Regions from separate parts of the Homo sapiens genome. Here region 2 is linked to region 1. The links are contacts of gene promoters, found by promoter capture Hi-C in human tissues and cell types (Jung and others, 2019). All regions are on one chromosome and are shown on one strand. The core of a region is centred on a gene start or on the middle of the fragment in contact, and the rest is flanking DNA. Distances in the headings are between cores, read along the strand shown.

The links. Contacts are between HindIII fragments. The study calls those that stand out against the background at their distance.
Region 2: a fragment that was not itself captured here is called in contact with the fragment with the promoter of CNPPD1 in region 1 in 1 of the 25 tissues and cell types used here (heart right ventricle).

What each region holds. Positions count from the first base shown.
Region 1 is chr2:219,174,081-219,181,366 of GRCh38, reverse strand. It overlaps CNPPD1 (cyclin Pas1/PHO80 domain containing 1), which reads left to right and starts at 4,442. Exons shown (of 8, transcript NM_015680.6): 1 at 4,442-4,607; 2 at 5,036-5,144; 3 at 5,695-5,776; 4 at 6,259-6,379; 5 at 6,461-6,589; 6 at 7,160-7,221. The coding sequence starts at 4,539. It overlaps RETREG2 (reticulophagy regulator family member 2), which reads right to left and starts at 3,092. Exons shown (of 9, transcript NM_024293.6): 1 at 2,734-3,092; 2 at 2,339-2,445; 3 at 1,604-1,634; 4 at 1,122-1,257; 5 at 613-697; 6 at 162-305. The coding sequence starts at 3,014. RefSeq lists silencers at 2,658-2,727, 4,178-4,227, 4,298-4,507, 4,628-4,687, 4,526-4,820 and 2 more and an enhancer at 2,897-3,397. The HindIII fragment of the contact is 7,594 bases long and covers 1-7,167 here.
Region 2 is chr2:218,301,638-218,308,923 of GRCh38, reverse strand. The region is part of intron 2 of PNKD (PNKD metallo-beta-lactamase domain containing); the gene reads right to left. It overlaps LOC105373881 (a long non-coding RNA gene), which reads left to right. Exons shown (of 3, transcript XR_923914.3): 3 at 2,376-2,554. Among named protein-coding and RNA genes, the nearest start is that of TMBIM1, 13 kb to the right of the region's middle. The HindIII fragment of the contact is 5,019 bases long and covers 913-5,931 here.

The DNA.
Region 1 (7,286 bases), core at 3,193-5,692:
AGAAAAGCAAGAGTAGTAGAGCAATGACCAAGCATGAATGATGGGAGGGGAGACAAACACAGCTAAAGAACTGGAGAAGATCTCAATTCCAGGGCATCTCATGAACCCCAAGCCAAGGCCCTCCCGCTCTTTCACCCTCCTGGCTTAGGGCAGCCCCTTACTCCTCTTGTCGTGTTTGTGATGCAGGGCATTGGCTTCTGCCTTCATGCTGTAGTCCAGCTGCATGAGCAGGGGCTCCAGGCGAGTGTACATCCTCTGGATCAGCTCATGATAAACCACCAGGGGCCACAGCAGGATACTCAACACTATGGGTTAAGAACGTGAACTAAGAGCTCCCTACGCCAATTTCCTAAGAGCCCCCATTCAACTGGTCCCTAAACTGAAGTGCTGAAGGTAGGCAAGGTCCTTTCCCAAGGCTGTGCCAACCTCTTCTTGCCACATCCACTGCCCTCCTCCCCAGGTAAGTCTTCCACAGTTACTAATACTAAAGCATCCCTGGAGATCTCCACAAATCAGAAACTGAGCAGAGAGAGCATAGTCTTCCCTCTGGGTCAGTCCAAGGAAAGAAGAAAGGAGAGGGCTTTAAATAGGGCAGGGACAGACCCTACTCACAGACAATGTAGGAAATCATAATCCCTGGAACATAGTGTCCCAACACAGCCAACACAGCACAGCCAGAGCAGACTCGAACGCAGAACTGCAGAGAAGAGCAAAAGTCTAAGAACATCACGCTGAGATATGCGCCCCGCTCGGCTGGGTAAGAAACTACTGCTCAGCTGGTAGAAGGATGGGTATGTACTCAAGGAATGGGGTGGTCCAGTTTGGTTAAGAGGATGCTCAAGACCACCAATTCAGGAAGCTGGCAATACATAATGCCCACCACCTGTAATTCACACTGGTCTGCCTTGGCAGGAGAAAGTGTCAGGCTATCAAAAGCTTATTTCCTGAGGTGAGACTGCCTCCTGCACCAGGGATTAGCTGTGAATGTTGCCTCAAGAAGGCGCCCAGGCCTCTTCTTTCAGGGTCTCCAAGCGGGGAGTTTATATCACTCCACTCCCATCCCCCGCCACCTCTATTCCCCTTCAGTGTAGTGAACTGTTGTATGATGTAGGGGAGGTTACCTGAGCTGGATTCTGCCTCTTGTACTGCAGCAGCTCCTGCAGGTGAATCTGGAAGGTGAGCCAGCTCTCAGCCAGGTATCTGCACAACTCGGGCACACTCAGCAGGTGCGGCCGGGCGCCTGACCCCGCACCCTCACTGGGGAGACATGACATGACCCCTGGAGGCCTCAGATACCAGCTTCCTAGACACTTAAATCCCTCTGAGAATGCCAAAGATATCTTTAGTCTAAAAAAGCAAATGACCCCACCTCTCAAAAGGAGGCTGTCCTGGTCTTAGAAGCAAAGCCAGGAGGACCCAACCCTCTGCCCCAAAAGGAGCAGGCACGCAAACACCTACACAGGAGCCTAGGACCATGAAAAACCCATGGCTTGTTACCAGTTCATTCACAATGCTGGGGCACTGCCCTGCTCCATGGTGACACTGGCACCAGCAAGCAGGACAGGATGTGGGCATTTGTCTTCAAGAGGTGGCCTGTACTCACCTGTCAGAGTGTGGCTCCTCTGGGGATGATGCTAGAGAGAGAGGAGGGGGGCAAATTATTGAGTGGTAGGGGCCCTGGGAGACACTCCCCAAGGCAGAAATAGTTGTCCCTCCTCTGCAGCCCCAGAGCACCTTCTTCAGATGCCAATGGGGGAGCTGTTACATGTTTTTGTTTGCGTCTGTCTCCTTTAGACATTACCCTTCTCCAACATAAGAACTAGATTTTACTCATGCTTATCTCCCAAGCAACTCACATACAGCCTGTCACCTACTAAGTAAATTATATGGATAACAAGAAAAACAACACTGACGTTCTATTTATAAGGCTTATATGTGAAACACTATCATAAGTATAGCATGTGTATTAACTCATTAATCCTCTCCTCACCTCTCTATGAAGTAAGTTCTATCATCTGTGTTTTACAGATAAGGAAATTGAGACAAACAGAAATTGAGCTACTTTTACAAGGTCACAGCAATGGTAAATGGCAGAACAGAGAATGGAACCCAGGTAATATGGCTGCAGACTTCACCATCTTAACCACTGCACCTACAGTAGTATTAGTTTGGGAAAGGGGCAATTCTCATTTTAGGGAATTCCGTACAAAAAGGAAGTGGGCCATGCCTGGGAGGCAGGTGGCCTGCTGTACGTTCCCCTCGCCACTTAACCCCACCCAGCGGAATCAGGCACCAAGCAAGTACCCAATGGGTGCTTACTGAATGAAGAAACACTCACCTGAAACGTCAGGGAGAAAGCGAGGCTGCCAGAGATCCAGCAGAAAATAGGCCAAAAGTGAGACGCTGAGTAGGAAGAAGGGCCGGAGGGACGAGGAAGACAGCAACCTTAGGGAGAGACAGGCACCTCAGCAGTGAGTGGGTGAGACAGGCTCATGCATCCATCTCAGAAGGTGGAAAGGCGCCTACTGATGGGGTAATGGCACCTCCAGGCCTAACTCGCGACTCACGACTCAGAGATAGAAAAAAATGGGCAATTCAAGCGGATGTCAGCCTGCAAAAACTGGGGATGGGTCATGCCCCCAGGCCAAGTGATAACCCAGAAAGGGGAATGGTGCTCTCGACCCCTCCCTCCCCCGCTCATCCCGGCCCCGCCCCCTCCTCCGCGGCCGTTACCAGAAGAGGCCGTTGAGCGCGGCCGCCGTGACCAGGCTGTGCAGCGGCTTCTCCCACACCAGCAACCGCTGCGCCGCCGCCAGCACCGCCTCCCAGCCGCGGAGCCGCAGCCACAGCGTCGTGGCCAGGCGTCCCACCGCCTCGGCCGTGGCCGCCTCCTCCTCTGCCTCACTGGTGGCCTCACTCATGCCTAGGCTCAGACCCAGACCCAGGCCCAGGCTCAGGCCCATCCCCGGCCCCCCACCCGCGCCAGTGTTACCCCCGCCACCGCCGCTCGCCATAGCCCCGCCGCAGCCGCCGCCCGAGCCCGCGAGGAGCCAGGGCTGCGCGGCCGCCGCCGGGGGCGCGTCAGGCGGAAGGGGGCGCCGCGGAGGACAGCAGAGGTTGCGGACGAGCGTCACGTGACTGCGGAGCGCTGAGCCCGTCACGTGACGCGGCCTAACCCCCCCCCCCCCGGATAGGGCGGGCCGCGCATGCGCCCCGGCGGCTGCCGCTGACACTGCGCCTACACAGGTTCGTTTTCTGGTTGACGAAGTACCCCGGGTTCCGAGTCCGGGTCTAGGTCCAGGCAGTCGAGCCCGTTTTCTTATCCCACAGTAGGCAGGGCGGCTAGGGAGTGTGGTGCTGCCCCGGTATCCCCGTGTGGGGCAGGAAGTGGGCTTCCAGATTCCCAGTATCCCCGGTAGGGTCTGCTTCTGCTCGCTCGGGAAGGGCGGTGGCCGTCCCATTACTCAACCAACCCTCAACGCACTGGTCCTCCCAGTTCCCTCCCCTCAGTGGGTAAACAAACACACACCAGCGCTTGACTCGACAGACTCGAAAACAACATCTACTCAGAAAAGTTGTTTCTTTCCTATCTCCTTAAACTTTCCCACTTCCACATATCGGAGCTTCTTCCCACCTCGGCCTACTCAAGCATGAGATCGGAGGCGGGAGGTGGGTTTCAACACAAAACCTTGGGTAGATGCAGTTTACTTTTGGGTGGACGTGTTGACACGTTTTGAGGCCTTACATTCGCTTAAGATCACAGAATTTCCTCAGTAGCCTTAGGTTTAAAAGTTCAAATTACAGTAAAAAAAAAAAACACCCTGAGTTTCTCTTCCTTTTCATAGTTCACCCACTGCTAAATTTCCTGTGTGTCCTTTCAGACGCTTTTCATATGCATTGCTGAGTATGTATAATATCTCTCCTAAAAAGCAACTGGGAACAACTTCCTGTTGTGCGTTTCGTCTTATTCACATTAACTTCTCCATTGCTACGCCTGGCTTGTTCATCCTCAGTGCGGCGTGGTCCCCCCTACGAATTGTCCCCATTTCTCAGAGGCGCCTGGGGCTTGGCCACGTTCCGTGAGACCAGGAGTTCGAGTCCGGTTCCTGCCCGCGGGTCGGGGCGGGAGGCTGGGCCAGATGGGCGGCAGGAAGTGCCAGGCGCTGACTTGCAGGCGGCACCCCCGCGGCTTGTAAACGCCGGGCGGACGCGGCACAGGCGGAGTACGCGCCTCGCAGCCGCATCTCCTTTCTGCTCCGCGAGGTGAGCGTCGCACGGACGCTTGACACCTCCCTTCCCGGGCCTAGGGCCCCCGCGCGCCGCGCCAAGCCCGGGGCGGAACAGGAAGAGGCGCCCAGTTCAGCCCGGGCCCCGCCTTCCGCCGCCGGGGGGAGGGAGCTGCGAGGGCGAGGGCGAGGACGGCGGCCCGCCCCGGGGAGGCAGGCTGGCAGGTGGACAGGCGGGCAAGGACAGCTCCGCGAGCCCCCTACAACTCGTTTCCTTCCGTTCACCTTCGCAGGGCGGCGACTGGCGGCGCGATGGACCTGACCGGGCTCCTGCTGGACGAAGAAGGCACCTTCTCCCTCGCCGGCTTCCAGGACTTCACGGTGAGTGGGGGTCCCGCCCCCTCCCCGGCCTCCCGGCGCGCCCCTCCCGGCCTGAGCGGCGCTGCGAGCTCGCCTGACTGCTGTGCCGGGACTGGGCGGCAGCTGCTCGAGCAGTGCTTCCTTGAGGCCGCGGCTGCTTGGGCCGGGAGGGAGAGCCGCGGAGTATAGGAATGGGCGTAGGGGTGGCCACACGAGGGCCCTTCTCGGAGAACTTCTCCCGGGGAACCCTCGATGGGGGTGGGGGCATTCCTCCCTCTATGGACCAGGCTGCCATTGGCAAGCGATTTACAGAACGCGGGTCTGGGTAAGGCACGGGCCCCCTAGCAGCGAGGCCGGCCTGTCCCCTGCCCCGCCTTCCAGCCCAGAGCCAGGATCTGCATCATACCTTTCCGTGCCCTTCACCCTCCGCTGCCCCTGCCCTGTTTCAGTTCCTCCCAGGACACCAGAAGCTGAGTGCCCGGATCCGAAGGAGGCTCTACTATGGCTGGGACTGGGAAGCCGACTGTAGCCTGGAGGAGCTCTCCAGCCCGGTGGCAGGTTAGGCAGTGTTGTGTGACTGGACAAGTGAGAAGCATGAAAATGGGATTGTCATCAGGCAGAAAATGGCTCGAGGTTTGCCCCGTGGCTACACTGTCTCTTCATTGCTAGCTCGTTGGTACTTGGTTCAAGAGGGCAGTTTGCATTTCCCATTCTTTTAGCCCAAATGAATAAAAAACATTGCTGCCACATATATCTATACAAATCACTCTTGATTTATATATTGAAAAGCTAATTTTCGAAGGATATCCATCATATGTTCCCCAAGTAAACAAGGCATGTTTATGCCACAGATGAACAGCAGTGACAGATAAATCTGGATAGTTTGATGTGACAGGGCAATAAGCTTTCCTGTTAGAATGAGCTGAAATTCGAACTTGGAATGGGCTTTTTGTCTCAGTGTGTGAGAATTTGATCTCTATTTTGTTACTATGGTCCTGTCCCCAAGGCCTCAGAAAATACAGATCTGGGTCTTCTGCTAGCAGTGGGGACTGGTGTGTTGGGTGTGGGTGCTTGTTTGCTCACTCGGCCTTCCTTCTGTCCCTTGCAGACATTGCTGTCGAACTGCTCCAGAAGGCAGCCCCCAGCCCTATTCGCCGACTCCAGAAGAAATATGTAGCTCATGTGTCCCGGTGAGCCTGGAAATGAGGATAGGATGAGAGTGTTTGGGCCCTAGAGAAAGGGGAATCGTCTTTTCTTTCTTTTCTTTCTTTCTTTTTTTTTTTTTTGAGACAGTCTCACTTTGTCACCCAGGCTGGAGTGCAGTGGCACAATCTCGGCTCACCGCAACCTCCGCCTCCTGGGTTCCAGTGATTCTTGTGCCTCAGCCTCCCCAGTAGCTGGGACTACAGGCACACACCACCGCCCCTGGCTAATTTTTGTATTTTTAGTAAAGACGGGGTTTCACCATGTTGGCCAGGCTGGTGTCAAACTCCTGGTGTCAGTCCACCCACCTTGGTCTTCCAAAGTGCTGGGATTACAGACATGAGCCACCGTGCCCAGCCAGGAATAGTTTTTTTCCAAAGATAAGAGGTAAAGACAGGAACGAGCATCATAAGACTTGCAAGAGCTGAAGGACCCTTGGGTTTAATTAGTGATCCTTTCTACCACCCAGGGAGGCATGCATCTCCCCATGTGCTATGATGCTGGCTCTGGTGTACATTGAACGGCTCCGGCACCGAAACCCAGACTACTTGCAGCATGTGTCATCCTCTGACTTGTTCCTGATCTCCATGGTAAGACACCCCCTCCCCATCTCCCTAAAGAGCCAAGAGCCTGCTATGAGCTCTGCTCCACCACTTCTGGTTCCTCTGCAGATGGTGGCCAGTAAGTACCTCTATGATGAAGGGGAGGAGGAGGAGGTCTTCAACGACGAATGGGGAGCTGCTGGGGGTGTGGCCGTGCCCACTCTCAATGCCTTGGAGAGGGGCTTCCTGAGTGCCATGGTGAGCAGCTGTTCTCTCTCTTGCTCAGTTTCCCTGGCCCATCTTTAACCGTCCTTTAGTCCTTTGTTCTCTCTCAGTCTTCTGTTGGTTCGTCATTTCTCTTCCTGTCCTCCTCCTGCCTTTGTGTTAGTGTCTTCCTTTCCTATCTCTTCAGTACTAACCAGTTTTTGGAGATTCGTAGAGCAGTAAGGCCAAGAGCAGAACATTTCCTCGCCTCCTCTATTCCTCCAGGGCCCCACAGGGTACACTCTGAGTCAGAGTTTATCCTATTGGGTTCTGAATATTTGTGTCCATACTTTCTCTGCCCCTAGATGTTTAGCTCCCTGTGGACACAGACCATTCTCAGGGTCATTTTCTCCCCTCTTGCTTAGTGGAGAGTATAATGTGAAACCAGGCAGGTGGTGATTCAATGAGTTAATGTGTAAAAACTTTTGAGACAGTATCTGGCACATGGTAAGTGCCAAATATGCATTAGCCATAGGGGCGGTTGTAGTTGCTGCTATGGCTCTTATTATTAAATGACTGTGGCTCATCCAAGTCTGGTTTGATGTCCACTCTCCGTACTCACAGGATTGGCATCTCTACACTGACCCTCGGGAGATCTTTGAGGTGCTGAGCTGGTTGGAGAGCTGGTAGGTTCTAGGAGTTGGGAAGAAGGGCTCGAGGGATTTGGGGGCTGAGTCCTCAGCCATAGGAG
Region 2 (7,286 bases), core at 2,173-4,672, 870 kb after region 1:
AAAGAGAGAAAAAGAGAAAGGAAGGAAAGAAGTGGAGGAGGCTGGGCACGGTGGCTCACTCCTGTAATCCCAGCACTTTGGGAGGTTGAGGCAGGCAGATCCCCTCAGGTCAGGAGTTTGAGACCAGCCTGGCCAACATGGTGAAACCCTGTCTACTAAAAATACAAAAATTAGCTGAGGGGTGGTGGCAGCTCCTGTAATCCCAGCTACTCAGGTGGCTGAGGCAGGAGAATCGCTTGAACCCGGGAGGTGGAGGTTGCGGTGAGCCGAGATTATGCTATTGCACTCCAGCCTGGGTGATAGAGCAATACTCGTCTAAAAAAAAAAAAGAAAGAAAGAAAGTAGTGGAGAAAAAAATAGGACACAAAACTGGGTAAATTTTGAATAACTGATACGATTGTACCTCTGTAAACAAAAATGGATTAAAAAAAATCTAAGGCTGGGCACGGTGGCTCGTGCCTGTAATCCCAGCACTTTGGGAGGCTGAGGCGGGCAGATCACAAGCTTAGGAGTTTGAGAACAGCCTGGCCAATATGGTGAAACCCCGTCTCTACTAAAAATACAAAAATTAGTTGGGTGTAGTGGCGGGTGCCTGAATCATCCCAGCTACTCAGGAGGCTGAGGCAGGAAAACCACTTGAATCTGAGAGGCAGAGGTTACAGTGAGCCGAGATGGCACCACTGCACATCTGAGTGATGTGCAGTGAGACTCTGTCTCAAAAAAAAAAAAAAAAAATCTAAAATGCTTCCAGTCATAATCTTTGGTTGATTGACTCATGGGGTACCATTTGTTTATTATTTTTTTGTGCTTTTAAAATATTTTCTGATCTTCTATAATGAAAACATATTAGTATTTTAATTTTTAAAATTATTATTTTATTAAAACAAAGAAAGTAGTCCTCTCTGCTGTCTCTACCTTTCACTTCACGTCCATTCTCAGGCCACTCAACTGGGCCCCTGCCTGTACTGCTCCATCCTAATTTGGCGCTGTCCCCTTGAAGGTCAAACCCATTTGTCATTGTTCAGCCCTTATCACTGAACCTCTGGGTGGCAGCTATGACAATGGAGCATGCCTTTTTCCTCTGCCTTCCCTGCCACAGTCTCTCTGGCTCTCCTCTCCCCTCTCTGACAAGCTCCCCTTCTGCTAGCTCTAAATTCACCACTTACAGGCTACCACCTGTATACTCATTACTTCAAAGGAGAAATGTCCACAAGAGCCTCCCTTGGATGCCCCACGGTAGGGGTCCCCAACCGCTTCCCTCCAACCCTATACTGGTCCTTGGTCTGTTAGGAGCCAGGCCACACAGCAGGACAGGCAAAGCTTTACCTGTATTTACAGCTGCTCCACATTGCTTGCATTACCCTCTGAGCTCCACCTCCTGTCAGATCAGCAGCAGCATTAGATTCTCATAGGAGCTCGCACCCTATTGTGAACTGCGCATGTGAGGGATGTAGGTTACATGCTCCTTATGAGAATCTAATGCCTGATGATCTGTCACTGTCTCCCATCAATCCCAGATGGGACCATCCAGCTGCTGGAAAACAAGCTCAGGGTTCCCATTGATTGTACCTTATGGTGAGTTGTATGATTATTTTATTATATATTACAATGTAATAATAATAGAAATCTAGTGCACAATAAATGTAATGCGCTTGAATCATCCCGAACCCCCCTAACCCCATTGCCTCCCCCAGTCCCTGGAAAAACTGCCTTCCATGAAACTGGTCCCTGGTGCCAAAAATGCTGGGGACTGCTGCCACACGGGATCTTTAACTTGATTTGTCCAAAGCTACCTCCTCATCCTCATGTGACCCCAACCCTCTCCTTCAGGTCTGCCAACTTGGCCAACGGCATCATCTGTGTTTCCAGATGATTTTGCCCAACTGTAAACGAATGTCATTGTTTTGTGCATGTTTAAGGCAGGCTAGGCTAGGCTATGATGTTTGGTAGGTTTAGGTGTATTTAATGCATTTTCCACTTAGGATATTTTCAATTTAGGATGAGTTTATTGGGATGTAACCACTCTATAAGTTAGGAAGCATCTGTGTTTGTCAGATGACCAAACAAACCAATCCCGACACCTAGCTCCTGGGTGAGGGCATCTCTTAGGCCTAGGTAATGACTTGCACACTTCATTGCACACATGTCTCTGTGATGGTCCTTAGGCTGTGCAGTAATTCCTGGCGCTGCCCCATAACACTTCAAGTGCCTTGTGGGTAAGGAGGGTGAACTGTCGGGGAGGGAGTGGAATCGGGTTTGGGGGTTGTGTGCTAGACTTGGAATGACCAGCTTAGAACCCTGGCTCCACTAGGAACTCTGCACCTTGGGGCAATGTTCTTAATCTACTCAAACCTCATTCTCTTTCTCTCCACGAGGGACTGGTAATTTGCATGGAGCTACTCGGAGGATTAACCGTGATTACCCAGAGAAAGGACACCTTGCCTGGGCCGTTTCAAGTACTCCACACATGTTCCTTGATATTATTGATCTCATTCTTGCAACATCAGCATCTGTCCTGGTGGGTGCTCAAGTAAATATTTTATGACTGAAATGATAAGAGGGTGTGACCTTTGCCTCCATTTCCCATTGCATCATCCCAAATCAGGCCCTTGGGTCCTCATGCCTGGCCCATTGCAGGCACCTGCAGCCCCTAGCCATCAGTTTCAAGCAGGGGCTCCCCCTGCTCAAAGCCAGTGTCTACACAATCAAATTTGCATCCCTTGTTTTAGCGACATGGTCTCAGCCCAGTTCTCTAGTGTGTGGCGTTCCTGCTGCTCCCCTCCACATGTGTCCCGTCTGCCAGCCTGCCCTGATCACTATCCTAGATTTCTGCCCCATGCCACCTGGAGAAATCCTTTTAGGCAGCTTCCTCAAGATACCAGGTACCTTCCAGCCCTACCATGCCCCCGGGGATGTGATACCCTTCCAGGAGTAACCATAACTAATGAAGGTCCAATTCTCAATCTAGGGAGTCTGGCAGCTCTCAACAGAGGAGGGAGGAGAATGAGTTCAGTTCTCAAGGAGGCTGATAATGCCTTTCCTTTTAGTCCAGTTTCTTTAAGGCTAAAAATAAATTCAACCTCCTCTTCGAAGGCTTTTCTGATTACCACAATTATTTGCACTGCCTGGTCACTACTCTAACTCCAGACCCTGGAAAAAATGTCATCTCACAGCCAAACAGAAACGAATGGTTTGGCTATGGTGGGGGCGGAAGGGGGCACACCCAGAGGAGCCATAGCCTTTTCTTTACAAGACTCTGACCTCTGGGCTGGGGGTGGTGGCTCATGCATGTAATCCCAGCACTTTGGAAGGCCAAGGCGGGATGATGGATCGGAAAATTGTCTAGAAATTCAAGACCAGCCTGGGCAACACAGTGAGACCCCACCTCTACAAAAAATTAAAAAAAAAAATAGCCAGACATGGCATGCACCTGTGGTCCCAGTTACTTGAGTGGCTGAGGCAAGACGATTGCTTGAGGTCAGAGGTTGATGCTGCAGTGAACTATGATTTTGCCACTGCACTCCAGCCTGAGTGACAGAGTAAGACCCTGTCTCAGAAACAAACAAACATACAAACTAACAGGCAAAAACAAGACTGAGCTCTCCCTGTAGGCAAAAAATGGCGGCCTCCACTTGTTTGTCTCTCCCTCATCCCCAGCACCTTGCACTGGGCTTGATGCATGCAGTGTGATAAATGTTTGTTCTGTTGTGTGGGAAGGAAGAACAGAACAACCGAGTGTAGACTGTCTACTGAGCACAAGGCCTGCGCACAGCCCTTGCACGTGGGATTTCATTGTCACGACTCTATAAGGAAGGTGATGGTCGCCCCACTTTATTTATTTATTTATTTTTGAGATGGAGTCTTGCTCTGTCACCCAGGCTGGAGTGCAGTGGCGCGATCTCAGCTCACTGCAACCTCTACCTCCCAGGTTCAAGTGATTCTCCTGCCTTAGCCTCCCGAGTAGCTGGGACTACAGGTGCCCGCCACCACGCCTGGCTAATTTTTGTGTTTCACCAAGATGGGGTTTCACCATGTTGGCCAGGCTGGTCTCGAACTCCTGACCTCAAGTGATCCACCCACCTCAGCCTCCCAAAGTGCTGGGATTACAGGCATGAGCCACTGTGCCCGGCCAGTCGCCCCACTTTAGAGATGAACAAACGAAGGCTTGGAGAGAATAATGACTCATACCATCACAGGCGACAAAACCCAAATTCAATTATGGTTTTATTTGACCCCCAATTCCATGCTCTTTCCACTGATCCTCTGTAACCAGCCTGGGTAGAAAACATGTGTCAGTGTCTGCTGGGAAACAGATGACACAGGCAAACTGGGAAAGCTGAGGAGAGCTTGAGAGAAGTTAAGTTTTAGTGCTCTGCAAGGCTACCGGCAGGTGCTGGAAACAGTTCTCCAGGCTAGTGACACTGTCGCCACCCCTGGGCCTGAAGGGTCAGGAAGGGAGCTGTTATAAAACATAAAGACAGGTTGGGTGCGGTGGCTCATGCCTGTAATCCCAGCACTTTGGGAGGCCGAGGCGGGTGGATGACCTGAGGTTAGGAGTTCCAGACCAGCCTGGTCAACATGGTGAAACCCTGTCTCTACTAAAAATACAAAAAATCAGGCATGGTGGCAGGCATCTGTAATCCCAGCTACTTGGGAGGCTGAGGCAGGAGAATCGCTTGAACTGGGAGGTTGCAGTGAGCTGAGACCACGCCACTGCACTCCAGCCTGGGCAACAAGAGCGAAACTCTGTCTCAAAAACAAAAAACAAAGACAGAGCTGTGTGGACAGGCCCAACTGATAGGGGCTGTGACCACTGGTTGAGGGATAAGCCAGTCTGGGGTGAGCCTTGAGGGAGGGAGAAGGAGACAAACCCTCCACCTCTGCTGCCATCTCCTCCTGGAGAGCTCCACTGCCAAACTCAGCTGCAGCTGGAGGACCAAGAGCCCACTGAGGTGTCCATAGGACCAGCTCCAAGCAGGGTGGAGAAGACGGAGGGGGATGTGGAGAGCAAACGGAAACCAGCCAAATGAAACCAAAGAAGTGCGGGTCTGGCCGGGCGTGGTGGCTCACACCTGTAATCCCAGCACTTTGGGAGGCTGAGGCAGGTGGATCATGAGGTCAGGAGTTCAAGACTAGCCTGGCCAAGATGGTGAAACCCCATCTCTACTAAAAATACAAAAATTAGCTGGGCATGGTGGTGGGCACCTGTAATCCCAGCTACTCAGGAGGCTGAGGCAGAGAATCGCTTGAACCCAGGAGGCAGAGGTTGCAGTGAGCCGAGATCATGCCACTGCATTCCAGCCTGGGCAACAGAGCAAGACTCTGCTCAAAAAAAAAAAAAAAAAAAAAGAAGTGCAGGTCTGGGATGGGGGTCGTGGGGTATTGACACCTCAGGGTGGGGGCTGGTGCCACCACCTTTCATCTTGTAGCCAAGGTGGCTCCTCAAGGCCTTCCTGCTCTCGGGCTCCATTCCCTCAACCCATTCACCGCTCAGAGCCAGGGTGATTCTCCTAAAATACCACCCAGATCATGTCCCATGTCCCAGCCCTGCTCAAAATCACTCAATGGCTTCCTTTGTAAACCAAAAATAAAATTCAATGCCCCCTCACCTCAGCCATCTGAATGGACTCCCTCCTCTGCCAGGGCATTCCAAAGTTAACCTGAAAGACTGGTTCAGGGCTGGGCTGGTGGCTCACACCTGTAATCCCAAGGATTACACTTTTGGGAGGCCAAGGTGGGCAGATCACTGAGGCCAGGAGTTCAAGACCATCCTGGCCAACATGGTGAAAACCTGTCTCTACTAAAAATACAAACAAATTAGCTGGGCATGGTGGTGGGCACCTGTAATCCCAGCTACTTGGGAGGCTGAGGCAGAAGAATCACTTGAACCTGGCAGGCAGAAGTTGCAGTGAGCTAAGATGGCACAACTGCACTCCAGCCTGGGGAACAGAGTGAGACTCCATAAAACAAACAAACAAACAAACGAACAAACAGAAAAAAAACCTCCAGGCCTTTAGGTAACTCTTTTAATCAATTGCCAATCAGAAAATTTTTAAATCTACCTATAACCTGGAAGCTCCCTTCAACACACACATACATTCTGCGCCCCTGTCCCCCCGCCCTGACTACCTTGGGCCACGTGTTCTCAGGGTCTCCTGAGGGCTGTGTCAAGGGCCATAGTCGCTCATATTTGGTTCAGAATAAATTTCTTCAAATATTTTACAGAGTTTGAATGTTTTCATTGATATCTTTAGGCTGAAATTTGAAGTCCTTAAAGAGGCCCTGAGACTCTGTAGACCTGGCCCCTGCCACCTCCCCAGTCTCCTCTTGGGCCATGCCCCAGTGCCCACCACTCTCCAGCCACACCACTCTCCTGGAAGTTTCTGGAACATGCCAAGCTCTTTCAGCTTCAGGGGTGTCTCCACACCTTCACATAGCTTGATCCTTCTGCTTAGAAGGGTCACAGCACCATTGTCCACCACCCCCCACGGCCCATCCCCTCTGTAGCTACTCTTTCATGCCACCTTCTGCCAACATAAGAGGTGCCTGGGTGCCACTCTTTTGTTTTTGTTTTTTGAGATGCAGTCTCACTCTGTTGCTCAGGCTGGAGTGCAGTGGCGCTATCTCAGCTCACTGCAACCTCTGCCTCCTGGGTTCAAGTGATTCTCCTGCCTCAGCCTCCCGAGTAGCTGGGACTACATGTGCGCACCACCATGCCTGGCTAATTTTTTGTATTTTTAGTAGAGACAGGTTTCACCGTGTTAGCCAGGATGGTCTCGATCTCCTGACCTGGTGATCTGCCTGCCTCGGCCTCCCAAAGTGCTGGGATTACAGGCGTGAGCCACAGCTCCCTGCCTTGGGTGCCACTCTTTTAGGGCACTGAGTCAGCTTTCCTTAAGTGCATGTATTACAGTTTGTAAAGATACCTTTGCTTATGAGATGAGTTGCTAATATCTGTCCTGCCTTCCCTACTGGACTGTAAACTCCAAGAAAGCGGGGGCTGTATTTTATTTACTTCTGTATCCCCACAGGTCTGGCACACAGTTGGCCCCTCATAAATGCTTGTTAAATAAATCTTAATGGTATTGGGGTTGAGTCCTGGCCCCTTTCTTTTCTCCCGTTTTTGTTTGTTTGTTTGAGACAGATGGTAGCTCAGGCTGTTGCCCAGGCTGGAGTGGCATAATCACAGCTCACTGCAGCCCTGACCCTCCTGGGGTCAAGCCAACCTCCCACCTCATCCTTCCAAGTAGCTGGGACTACAGGCACGCACAACCATGCCCAGCTAA